4 separate regions of the Homo sapiens genome follow, and all the other regions are linked to region 2. The links are contacts of gene promoters, found by promoter capture Hi-C in blood cells and fetal thymus (Javierre and others, 2016). All regions are on one chromosome and are shown on one strand. Each heading gives the region's core, a stretch centred on a gene start or on the middle of the fragment in contact. The rest is flanking DNA. Distances are from core to core; before and after follow the strand shown. Region 1 overlaps SLFN12 (schlafen family member 12). Region 2 holds the start of SLFN12L (schlafen family member 12 like). Region 3 overlaps SLFN13 (schlafen family member 13). Region 4 overlaps SLFN12L (schlafen family member 12 like).

Evidence for each region. The method cuts DNA at HindIII sites, captures the fragments that hold promoters and counts their contacts. A CHiCAGO score of 5 or more calls a contact.
Region 1: a fragment that was not itself captured here is called in contact with the fragment with the promoter of SLFN12L in region 2 in 6 of 17 cell types (total CD8 T cells, naive CD8 T cells, total CD4 T cells and 3 more); the score reaches 9.3 in total CD8 T cells.
Region 3: a contact is called between a fragment that was not itself captured here and the fragment with the promoter of SLFN12L in region 2, in 7 of 17 cell types (total CD8 T cells, non-activated CD4 T cells, naive CD8 T cells and 4 more). The highest score is 12.7, in total CD8 T cells.
Region 4: a contact is called between a fragment that was not itself captured here and the fragment with the promoter of SLFN12L in region 2, in 4 of 17 cell types (total CD8 T cells, naive CD8 T cells, total CD4 T cells and 1 more). The highest score is 8.2, in total CD8 T cells.

The regions. Positions count from the first base shown.
Region 1 is chr17:35,421,574-35,424,759 of GRCh38, reverse strand. It overlaps SLFN12 (schlafen family member 12), which reads left to right. Exons shown (of 4, transcript NM_018042.5): 2 at 1,692-2,770. The coding sequence starts at 1,732. Among named protein-coding and RNA genes, the nearest start is that of SLFN12, 9.3 kb to the left of the region's middle. The HindIII fragment of the contact is 5,564 bases long and covers 1-3,186 here.
Region 2 is chr17:35,536,220-35,538,995 of GRCh38, reverse strand. SLFN12L (schlafen family member 12 like) reads left to right here and starts at 1,318. Exons shown (of 5, transcript NM_001363830.2): 1 at 1,318-1,423. RefSeq lists an enhancer at 1,911-1,990. The HindIII fragment of the contact is 3,143 bases long and covers 1,020-2,776 here.
Region 3 is chr17:35,444,766-35,447,591 of GRCh38, reverse strand. SLFN13 (schlafen family member 13) reads left to right here. Exons shown (of 6, transcript NM_144682.6): 2 at 178-324; 3 at 1,899-2,826. The coding sequence starts at 1,912. Among named protein-coding and RNA genes, the nearest start is that of SLFN13, 2.6 kb to the left of the region's middle. The HindIII fragment of the contact is 1,837 bases long and covers 332-2,168 here.
Region 4 is chr17:35,465,113-35,467,878 of GRCh38, reverse strand. It overlaps SLFN12L (schlafen family member 12 like), which reads left to right. Exons shown (of 5, transcript NM_001363830.2): 5 at 1-2,766. Among named protein-coding and RNA genes, the nearest start is that of SLFN13, 18 kb to the right of the region's middle. The HindIII fragment of the contact is 5,564 bases long and covers 1-2,766 here.

The sequences.
Region 1 (3,186 bases), core at 9-2,508, 110 kb after region 2:
ACCCCAACTGTCCAAATGGTTTGGGGCTCTAATGTTAACATTGTTTACATGTGATCAGGAATTTATATGGACACAGGTGGTATCCACAACCTTAGCTGAGTATCTGCATGATATTGGTCCAGCTGTGGACAGGAATATTCTGACCCCCTTTACATTCCTTTTCTAGTATAGCAATTACTACCTATGATGGACTTTATTCTCAATTGTCTCTATGCCACTCGGAAAACCTACACTTCTTAAGTTACACTTATTAACTTAACTTAAAAGTTACACTTAAGTTACACTTAAAAGTTAAACTTAAGTCACACTTCTTAACTTAAAAGTTACACTTAAATTCCACTTTTAAAAAAGTTAAACTTAAGTCATACTTCTTAACTTAAAAGTTACACATAAATTACACTTTTTTTAAAAAGTTAAACTTGTCACACTTCTTAACTTAAAAGTTACACTTAAATTACACTTTAAAAAAAAGTTAAACTTAAGTCACACTTCTTAACTTAAAAGTTACACTTGTTACATTTAAAAATAGTTAAACTTAAGTCACACTTCTTAACTTAAAAAGTTACACTTAAGTTACACTTAAAAAAAAGTTAAACTTAAGTTACACTTCTTAACTTAAAAGTTTCCATTTAGAGCAAAGCAGTGATCCTAATAGATTTTAAGGGAACAGAGCTAATGGATTAGGGATACATAGACTAAAGCACAATGTCTTAGTTTGTTTAGGCCGCCATAACAAAATACCGCAAGCTGGGTGGCTTACAAATAACAGAAATTTATGACTCACAGTTCTGGAGGCTGGGAAGTTTAAGATTAAGGTGCCAGCACTGTTGGATTCTGGTGAGGGCCCTTTTCCTGTCGCAGACTGCCTACTTATTGCTGTGTTCTCACATAGTGGAAGGGATGAGCTAGTGTTCCGGGGTCCCTTTTAGGAGAGTACTAATCTCATTCATGAGGGCTTCACCCTCATAACCTGATCACTTCCCAAAAACCTCATCACCTCAGGAGTTATAATTTCAACATATGAATTTTGGGGGAACACAAACATTCAAACCATAGCACAGGTGTTTTGTATATAAGAATTTTCCTTATTGAAAATATGTGGATATTAGATTTAAAAAGGGCACAATGACTTAGCCCACTTTGCTTAAGATCAATGGCCAAAATTTATAAATCTATTTCATTCTTATAAGAAGGAAAAATAATTAACATGACATGTTGGATGTCATTAGACCTTAACGGGAAATCTTCCAAAAGATTTATACCCATAAATGGAGATAATTAAGGTAAAAGCTGAAATTATTAAAATAAAAAGAAAAGTAGAAATAATATGTATAACTAAAGCCTGGTTCACTGAGAAGATAAAAACATAGACTCACTCCAGGGGTTGTTTAAGAAAAGGAGAGAGAAAACAGGTTGTACAATATTAGGGACTAGAAAGGAGAAAAAAGGCGGATAAAGAGATTACATAATTAGAATACATTATATAGAACTATAGTAACAAATTTGAAAATTCAGTAGGAGTATAAATTATTGCGGTCTTAGCTCAAAATTTGCCAGTCTCTTCATATCCATATACTTACCAGTCTAGTAGAATATATACAGCACAGGATTTTTTTGCATTTGCCTCATAATACAGAATTTGCTATCTTTCTAGTTCAGGTCCTATTCTAATGGCTCTGTCTATTTTACAGAAAAGAATTTCTGCTTGGACACTGCATAGCTGCTGGGAAAATGAACATCAGTGTTGATTTGGAAACGAATTATGCCGAGTTGGTTCTAGATGTGGGAAGAGTCACTCTTGGAGAGAACAGTAGGAAAAAAATGAAGGATTGTAAACTGAGAAAAAAGCAGAATGAAAGTGTCTCACGAGCTATGTGTGCTCTGCTCAATTCTGGAGGGGGAGTGATCAAGGCTGAAATTGAGAATGAAGACTATAGTTATACAAAAGATGGAATAGGACTAGATTTGGAAAATTCTTTTAGTAACATTCTGTTATTTGTTCCTGAGTACTTAGACTTCATGCAGAATGGTAACTACTTTCTGATTTTTGTGAAGTCATGGAGCTTGAACACCTCTGGTCTGCGGATTACCACCTTGAGCTCCAATTTGTACAAAAGAGATATAACATCTGCAAAAGTCATGAATGCCACTGCTGCACTGGAGTTCCTCAAAGACATGAAAAAGACTAGAGGGAGATTGTATTTAAGACCAGAATTGCTGGCAAAGAGGCCCTGTGTTGATATACAAGAAGAAAATAACATGAAGGCCTTGGCCGGGGTTTTTTTTGATAGAACAGAACTTGATCGGAAAGAAAAATTGACCTTTACTGAATCCACACATGTTGAAATTAAAAACTTCTCGACAGAAAAGTTGTTACAACGAATTAAAGAGATTCTCCCTCAATATGTTTCTGCATTTGCAAATACTGATGGAGGATATTTGTTCATTGGTTTAAATGAAGATAAAGAAATAATTGGCTTTAAAGCAGAGATGAGTGACCTCGATGACTTAGAAAGAGAAATCGAAAAGTCCATTAGGAAGATGCCTGTGCATCACTTCTGTATGGAGAAGAAGAAGATAAATTATTCATGCAAATTCCTTGGAGTATATGATAAAGGAAGTCTTTGTGGATATGTCTGTGCACTCAGAGTGGAGCGCTTCTGCTGTGCAGTGTTTGCTAAAGAGCCTGATTCCTGGCATGTGAAAGATAACCGTGTGATGCAGTTGACCAGGAAGGAATGGATCCAGTTCATGGTGGAGGCTGAACCAAGTTGAGAGCGGGGGATTCGCAACAGGAATGCATTTGGCTTGGGTGGCAGGGAGGTTTTCTCTATGGGATCTGGGGCAAGATCAATAGTCCTCAAATTTCAGCACCTAAACTATTAATCCCTGGTGGATACAATCAATAGTTCCCTGCCTCGGCCAGGCGCGGTGGCTCACGTCTGTATTCCCAGCACTTTGGGAGGCCAAGGCGGGCGGATCACGAGGTCAGGAGATAGAGACCATCCCTGGCTAAGATGGTGAAACCCCGTCTCTACTAAAAATACAAAAAATTAGCTGGGTGTGATGGCACGTGCCTGTAGTCCCAGCTACTCAGGAGGCTGAGGCAGGAGAATCGGTTGAAGCCAGGTGGCGGAGGTTGCAGTGGGCGGAGATTGCGCCACTGCACTCCAGCCTGGGCAACAG
Region 2 (2,776 bases), core at 69-2,568:
GGTTAAGTGATAAAAGGCTTATAGGTTTTAAGCCATAAAAACTTACTGGTTTTGAGTCACAATTAAGACAGGTATACCTTTGAAGATTTGAACTTTTATATCTAAAAGGATTTTTTTTTAAAAGAAAGCTGTCATCCTAAACAAATGTCTATGGAAAGATGAGATCGAAAGAAAATATTAATAGGCAAAGATGAGAATCAATTTTTATCAAAATTATTAAATTTTGTGTTTATGTATACCTAATCATGGCTAAGATTTTAAATGAAAATTATAAGATCTATTTGTGTCTGTCTTTATGTTTATGCCTATATGTGTGTGTTGTGTATATGTGATATGTCTCTACCTCCTGATATTGCACCACTACTTGACAGTATAATTCAGAATGTCTGGGGAAGGACCTTAGCATCTGAATTTTTAAAAAGCATGCCAAAAGATTTGAACAAGCAGCCAAGATTGGGAACTAATTATCTGATTAACGAATGACATCTCTAATTCAATTCCCTCTAGTGCACAGCACCTTTTCTTATAGCTAAAAATGATTGCTAAATCCACACTGTAATAATTTTTTCAATGTATAAGGATAGAAACCCAAAAAAAATGGAACAAGAAACCAACAAGAGCTCAAGGGAATTGTGACTCCTACAGCTGTTGAGGGAGACAGCAGGTCAAAAAGTAGCAGAAACTTGATCAGAACAATAGCAACAGTATTAGCAGCTAAATTAATAGCAGTGAATCCATCTCGGCTCTAATTACAACAACTATTAGGATTATGGAGGCTACTATAAAAATTGAATGAGAAAGTCAGTGAGATGCACTGTTTAATTTCCTTTCTGGCTCTTTCACTGTTTCTTTTTGTTTTGTTTTTTCCCTTTTCCTTGCCAATAAAAAATATTTGTTGAGTAACTCAGGCCTACTGTACAAAGTAACAATTCTCTCCTCCCTTTCCATCTTCTTCCTCTCCAGTTCTACTTCTGAGAAAGTAATCCTTAATAACAGTTTGGTGTGTATCCAAAAAAGCTTTTTTGTAGCATTATTCTCCAAAGTGTTTGAAGCATTTCTTCTGATAAAGTTTCTTTAGTCTTTAGCCAGAACTAGTCTTTGGCCCACTTAGTCTATTGATAAACAGGAAATAGCACATATTCCCCCCTTGAGGCTAGAATGGCAGGCCTAAAATGAGTAGGAGAATTCTGAGAAATGGAAACTTTAAAAAGGCGGCAACCTTCTAGTTTCATTCTCAGAAATACCAAAGCAGCATTTTTCCTGGACTTGTTCTGCAGAGCGCTCAGATTTGAAAGCCATTTCTAGCCTTTGAGGATTACCACTGTCCTCAGCCAAACTGCAGGGACTCCTAAGTAGATCAGAGCTCCTGGAACTTTCTCATCTTTTCAGCATCTCAACCCTGTGGAATCTTTTAACTCCCAAGGTAAGTACAGATTGTCCAGAGAGATCTAAGCCATGCTTATTCAATGGAATGGAGAGTCTCTCAAAGAGACCTCATAACTCTAAGATGAAAATCTCCTCTGTGGCTACAGACTTTTCCAGATATACCCACTTTAGGCAAGAGAGGATGAAGTAGACACTTTAGGTCTACACTTTTAATAAATAAGTGAAATAGACAATGAGAGGAGCTGGTCCTTAGACTGTACTCACCTTGTAGCTGAGGCCAGGGATGTAGGACTCAAGCCCAGAGGAACCTGGCTGGGCTGAGAGAAAGAGATGTAGAGGGTTCTCATAGTTCTGGGGAACAAACCTTCAGATAAGACAAGTGAGGAGACTTGGGAGGAAGGGATGCCTGTGAAGATTCTCTTTTTTTTTTGAGACAGGTTCTCACTCTTTCGCCCAGGCTGTCGTGCAGTGGTGCGATCACAACTCACTGCAGCTTCGACCTTCCAGGGCTCAAAGGATCCTCCTGCTTCAGCCTTTGAAAGTGCGGGGACTACAGGCACTGAGCGTGAGGGTGCCTGGCTAATTTTTTTCGTTTCTGTAGAGAGGAAGTCTTGCTAGATTGACCAGGCTGGTTTCAAACTCCTGACCTCAAGTAATCGTCCCACCTTGGCCTCCCAATGTGCTGGGATTATAGACATTAGCCACCGTACCCAGCCTCGCCTGTGAAGATTCTTTAGCAGTTAGCTGATTGCTTCATCACTATGAAAAGGGGTTTCTTATTTTTCTTATTTTTTTTTTTTTGAGACAGGCTCTCACTCTGTCACCCAGGCTGGAGTGCAGTGATGCAATCGTGGCTCACTGCAGTCTCAACCTCCCTAGGCTCAAGTGATCCTCCCGTCTCAGACTCTCGAGGAGCTGGGACTATAGACCATGCACCACCACACCCAGCTAATTTTTTTATATTTTGTAGAGACTGGATTTCCTTGCTCAGACTGGTCTCAAACTCCTGGGCTCAAGCAATCTGCCCACCTTAGCCTCCCAAAGTGCTGGGATTACATGCATGAGCCACTGAGCCCAACTGTGTTTTTTTGTTTTTCGTAATATATAAACTATTTTGTTTTCAGAGAAACTTAAGCTATATTGACTGGGAAACTGTGATCTAGTTGGATTTAGATATAATGTTTGCAAATGTGTCACTGCATTGGGTCTTTTTGTTTACCAACATTAATTAAAGCAGATACTTGTGAAGGCCCTAGATGTTCTGTCTAGCTGTGTTTTTACATGTGACTTTTGCTTGCCTGTGTTTAACAGAAATAGACCTATGTTTTTCTTGTTATCAAATGTGTTTTATAAAATAAATGCTATCACAAATACCAGGGAGATTATTCCA
Region 3 (2,826 bases), core at 1-2,500, 91 kb after region 2:
TGATTTTACCTACAGTATACCTGTGTAGGAGGCGAAACTGTTTCCATCAATTTCCACAGAGAAGCAAGGGCAAGAATTATCTCTAATTATTCCCATGCATGTGTAGGGGGGGTTCAAAGAAGTCTGAATCTTGACCCCTGAACTCTACTGCCTCTCTCTACATGTTTCTGCATACAGGTCTTTCAGGACTGATTTTGGTGGAAGAAGACAGCAGGCGGTGGGCATTCACTGTGCTGGTGGGAAGTCTGGTTACATTAAGAAAGGAATTCTAGCAAAGTTATTCTGTAAATACAACAGAATCAGTTGCTTTTGTTAAATATATTGGTAAGCTTCCTGATTTTTTTCACCTGAATTCTCAATTTGTTATTGAATAGTTCAGTTTTATTTAGGGTTTCAATTTTATTTAGGAAACAATATCTCTACCTTACAAAGAATCTGCAAGTAGCACTGACTATAATACCTTTATACCCAAAGGAAGAGCTGGGATAGAGCTCCCTAAGACTTTTCTGCCTGCAAAAGATATGGGTGGGGTTGCCATTTGAATACAGTTACCAATGAAAAACTATCAGCTTATCTAGGCTTTAACAATAAAGTTCATGGGGGTAAAGAGAAAAGATTTAACTTTGAAGTCCCCATATATCAAAAAGAATATTTTACAGGTAACTTGACAAAGATGTTTCAGTGGTCTCGGAATGCAAGACAGAATCCTGACGGTAGAAATTTCTAGGCAAGGGTCTAAATTAGGCAAACTGGTAAGATTGTGAATGTCCCAGCCTTTATTTCTGAATCTTGACCTCTGAACTCTGCTGCCTCTCTCTAAACATGTTTCTGCCTACAGGTACTTCAGGACTGATTTTGGTGTAAGAAGACAGCAGGTGTACACTTGATGATGCTACTTCCTTACCTCTCATTCATTCCTCAACCCATTGTAAAATAATGTCAATTAATATAGGTTCCTTTGCTGAACACCTGTGAACCAAAGCATAGTTTTAAATGCTTGTTGTAAACTATCTGAGTTAATCTTCATAATAACAGTCACAGGTGGCTGCACCATGTTTTATAGTAAGAAAATAGAGTTAGAAAGAGTAAATATCTAGACTAATATAACAGTACTAAATGGCAGAACTGGAATTCAAGCCATCTTCATTGACTCTGTTCTCCAAGACCTTAGCCCCTGGTTTATTGCCTCCTGATGCCCATTTCCCAGGTGTCTGAAGAGCATTTTTCAAAGTCACAGTTAACCTTAATTTTACTAAACTTAGGTTTAGTAACACTTTCCAGTCATTACCTAGCTGTATCTGTCAGCAGTATTAGACATCTTAAAACCTTGGCAGGTGACTTTGTTCCAGGCTTTGTTAATACCAAATACCCTTGATTTTTCTCTTACTTCTTTGATTTTTCATACTCAGACTTTTCTACAGTCTCCTTTTCAATGTGGTCTTCTTTTACTTATCTTCTAAAGTTGATGTTCATGGAGAATCTGTTCCAAACCTAGATGTTCTCATGCCATGGTACACATGCCCCTCAGCTGATCCACTACTTCTGTGTTTCAATGCTAATGATTTCACCTGGCCAGTTCTAGTGCATCTTTTAAGTCTTGGCCTAAATGGAACCTACTCCTGGAAGTCTTATGGAACCATGGTCTCCAGATTCGTTCAGATACCCTATTCAATGTGTTTTCCCTCTTAGAGCCCATGTCACAGATGATGGTAAAGGCTAATTTCATTAGTTCCCTTCCCTGCCAGCCAGTCAGCTCCTAAAGAGACTATACCTGTCTTTCTTGCTATTGTCTTATCCCAGCACATATTAGACACGTTTTAAATATTTTCTAATAAATGAATTGCAGGCCTGTAACAATTTTTTAATCAAAAATGAAACAAATATTCTAATACTTTAAGGTGCAAGTTCAACATGGAGGCAAATCACTGCTCCCTGGGTGTGTATCCATCTTACCCAGACCTGGTCATCGATGTCGGAGAAGTGACTCTGGGAGAAGAAAACAGAAAAAAGCTACAGAAAACTCAGAGAGACCAAGAGAGGGCGAGAGTTATACGGGCCGCGTGTGCTTTATTAAACTCAGGAGGAGGAGTGATTCAGATGGAAATGGCCAACAGGGATGAGCGTCCCACAGAGATGGGACTGGATTTAGAAGAATCCTTGAGAAAGCTTATTCAGTATCCATATTTGCAGGCTTTCTTTGAGACTAAGCAACACGGAAGGTGTTTTTATATTTTTGTTAAATCTTGGAGTGGTGATCCTTTCCTTAAAGATGGTTCTTTCAATTCCCGCATTTGCAGCCTTAGTTCTTCATTATACTGTAGATCTGGCACCTCTGTGCTTCACATGAATTCAAGACAGGCATTCGATTTCCTGAAGACCAAGGAAAGACAGTCCAAATATAATCTGATTAATGAAGGGTCTCCACCTAGTAAAATTATGAAAGCTGTATACCAGAACATATCTGAGTCAAATCCTGCATATGAAGTTTTCCAAACTGACACTATTGAATATGGTGAAATCCTATCTTTTCCTGAGTCTCCATCCATAGAGTTTAAACAGTTCTCTACAAAACATATCCAACAATATGTAGAAAATATAATTCCAGAGTACATCTCTGCATTTGCAAACACTGAGGGAGGCTATCTTTTTATTGGAGTGGATGATAAGAGTAGGAAAGTCCTGGGATGTGCCAAAGAACAGGTTGACCCTGACTCTTTGAAAAATGTAATTGCAAGAGCAATTTCTAAGTTGCCCATTGTTCATTTTTGCTCTTCAAAACCTCGGGTAGAGTACAGCACCAAAATCGTAGAAGTGTTTTGTGGGAAA
Region 4 (2,766 bases), core at 267-2,766, 71 kb after region 2:
AGAAAACAGAATGGTGTGCAGCTGCATTTGACAGAGTTTTGGTTTTTGCTTGCTTGCTTGCTTGCTTCATGGTTGAAGTTTAGGCTCAAACGGGTCCCATATCAGATAAGCAGCTGCCTAGCCCATTGGACAATCACTATTAATTGGACCCCAGAGAATATACACACCTGCTGTGGCCTCCTGATGGGGGGGGTTTGATATTGAAAATCTATAAAAATAGGTTAAGGCCTGGGGCAAGATAAAGACCCATTGAGAGGTCCATTTGTTGGACTGGAACTTTAAAAGAAGTTGTTTGGGGAGACTCTTATGTCTCTCTGTTAAACTGGCTATTTGGGACCTATTAGGGTCATGAAAGTTTTATTGAATGCCTGTTTGTTTCGGGAGCCCATTCAGTGTGTATTTTGCAATGTGAAATGTGTGCCTTGGTTATTACCTTGGTAATTGTAAGGCCTCATATGGTGGCCTTAATATACATAGACACGTGATTTTGGGTATCTAAGAGGAAAGAGGTTCTTAGTGTTCCTTAATCTGAAAGGGACAATTCATTAGGCAATGGCTCAATTGTTCAAAAGGAATATGGAGATGGGGCCATTTGTTGGCCAGGGCATCCAGCATTCGGTAATATTCCACCTAGCTCCATCATGTATGGTGGTTGGCAGTGCCATTCATATAGTCCGTGAACTTCTATTGCTGTTCACTCAGTCAATCCAAAGGAGCTTTCCAGGTAACCAAGGGGTCTGGAGGAGAGGTGACCTCCTCCAGCACTATGGCATCTGGCAAGGGACCAAGGACTGGGGACGTCACTCCCTTCTGCGTGTGAATATGCTAGAGAGCCCAGGACTTGGTAGCCTCCTTGAGACAGGTTAGAGACAAACCTGGGCCCTCTGAGAGGCTGAGCTTGCAGGGTGCTGTTTCCATGACTGAAAGCATAACAGGTAGCCAGGTATGGAGGGTCACAGACTCAGAATCTGTGAAAGCCTCTATGTCCAGGAGAGCCCAGTATGGAGCTAGTCATTTGTGGTTTTAATGGCATATAGCATGAGGCTGAGAGCCCTCAGGCAATTCGTAGCCATCACAGGTGGTCTAGACTTTAGGAGGCATGAGTAGAGCTTGTTAAAGTCTCTTCAGTAAAGGAATCAATGCAGGCACCAATGGGTCTGTCTGTTGGTATTAATTTGGATAGATTTTAGAGCCTTTTTGTTTGAGGCTGCCACATTTAAAGTGGGTTCATTTGTGAGTTACAGCTCAATGAGATTAAGTAAAATTTGTAAGTGAAGAATATTTTGCCATGAAAACCCAAAAAGGATGAAAAGATGTTGGACTCTTATGTCCATATGAGTAGATTAAGTGACATCTCCTTGGAGGAGGTTATTAATGTAATATCATATCTGTGCTCCCAGAGGAAGGTGCATGCACTTAAGATCTTGTCTGTCCCTGTCTCTTTAAAAAGAAGGCCATCTGAAAAGGCTATATACTGTATGATTCCAACTATATGACATTCTGTAAAAGGCAAGATTATGGAGACAGTAAAATGATCGGTGGTTTCCAAGGATTAAGGGAGTGGGAGGAATGAATAGTTGAACCACAGAGGATTCTTAAGGCCATGAAAATCCTGTGTTTGATACTATATAGTAGATATATGTCATTATACATTTGTCTGAACCCATAAAATGTACAAGAAGAATGAACGCTAATGTAAAAGTCGCAATGGATTTTGAGTGATTATGATGTATTAATTTAGATTAATCAATTGTAACAAATGTACCACACTAATGGGAGATGTTGCTAATGGGGGAGGCTATGCATGAGTGCGGGCAGTGGGTATATGGAAAATCTTTGTACTTTCCGCTCAATTTTGCTGTGAATCTGCTCTAGAAAAATTAAGTATTAAAAAAGATCTTGTCTGTAAGATGTGTGCATGATGGCAAAATTGTGAAGGTACTGAGGTGTAGCCTGCAAGAGGTATATTGTGTCTCTTCAGCAATGGAGGCAAACTACAGTGGAGTCTGTTGAAATAGGCACGGAATTGAACATATTGAACATATTAGCCAAGTCTGTAAGAACAGAGTATTTAGCAGTTATTGATTGGATAGAGTTAATAATGTTAATCATACTAGATACTGGCTATGAGGCCCTAGTCGACAAGACCACAGCAATAATGTTGTAGTCCTCCACCGTGAGGTGCCTGCTGCTTATTATTTTCCAGGTTTAAGAACAGGCAACACTGGGCTGTTAAACGGACAAGCAGCAGGGAATACTTATCTCCTTTATCCCTTTTATGTTATATAAATGAGGTTTTATGTAACAACTTTCAATCCTTCAAGGGCCTATTTTAACTTACATTGAACCATATTAACTATTTTAATGGGATTTATATAATCCTATTTTATCAAGCCAATTTTTGAGTGCCAAAAATTTAATTTTAATTTATTATTTATTGTGACATGGAGTCTATGTTCAATACGAGATACTTTAAGGCACTGAGTACAACAACTATGAGCAATTCAATCAAGATATAAAATAAGGCATAGCTATTTTTAAAAAGCTATTTAGCTACCTTTTAAAATTATATGGGGTACAATGTTTAAATTTGTTGGAACCTCAGGCATAAGTATAATTTGAGTATTTATTAAGTCCACGAGGTTTCTCAATTGGTGCATTTTGGCAAATGTTAAAGTTAATTTAGAGCTTTCAGTTCTGGCCAGGCGTGGTGGCTCACGCCTGTAATCCCAGCACTTTGGGAGGCCGAGACAGGCGGATCACTTG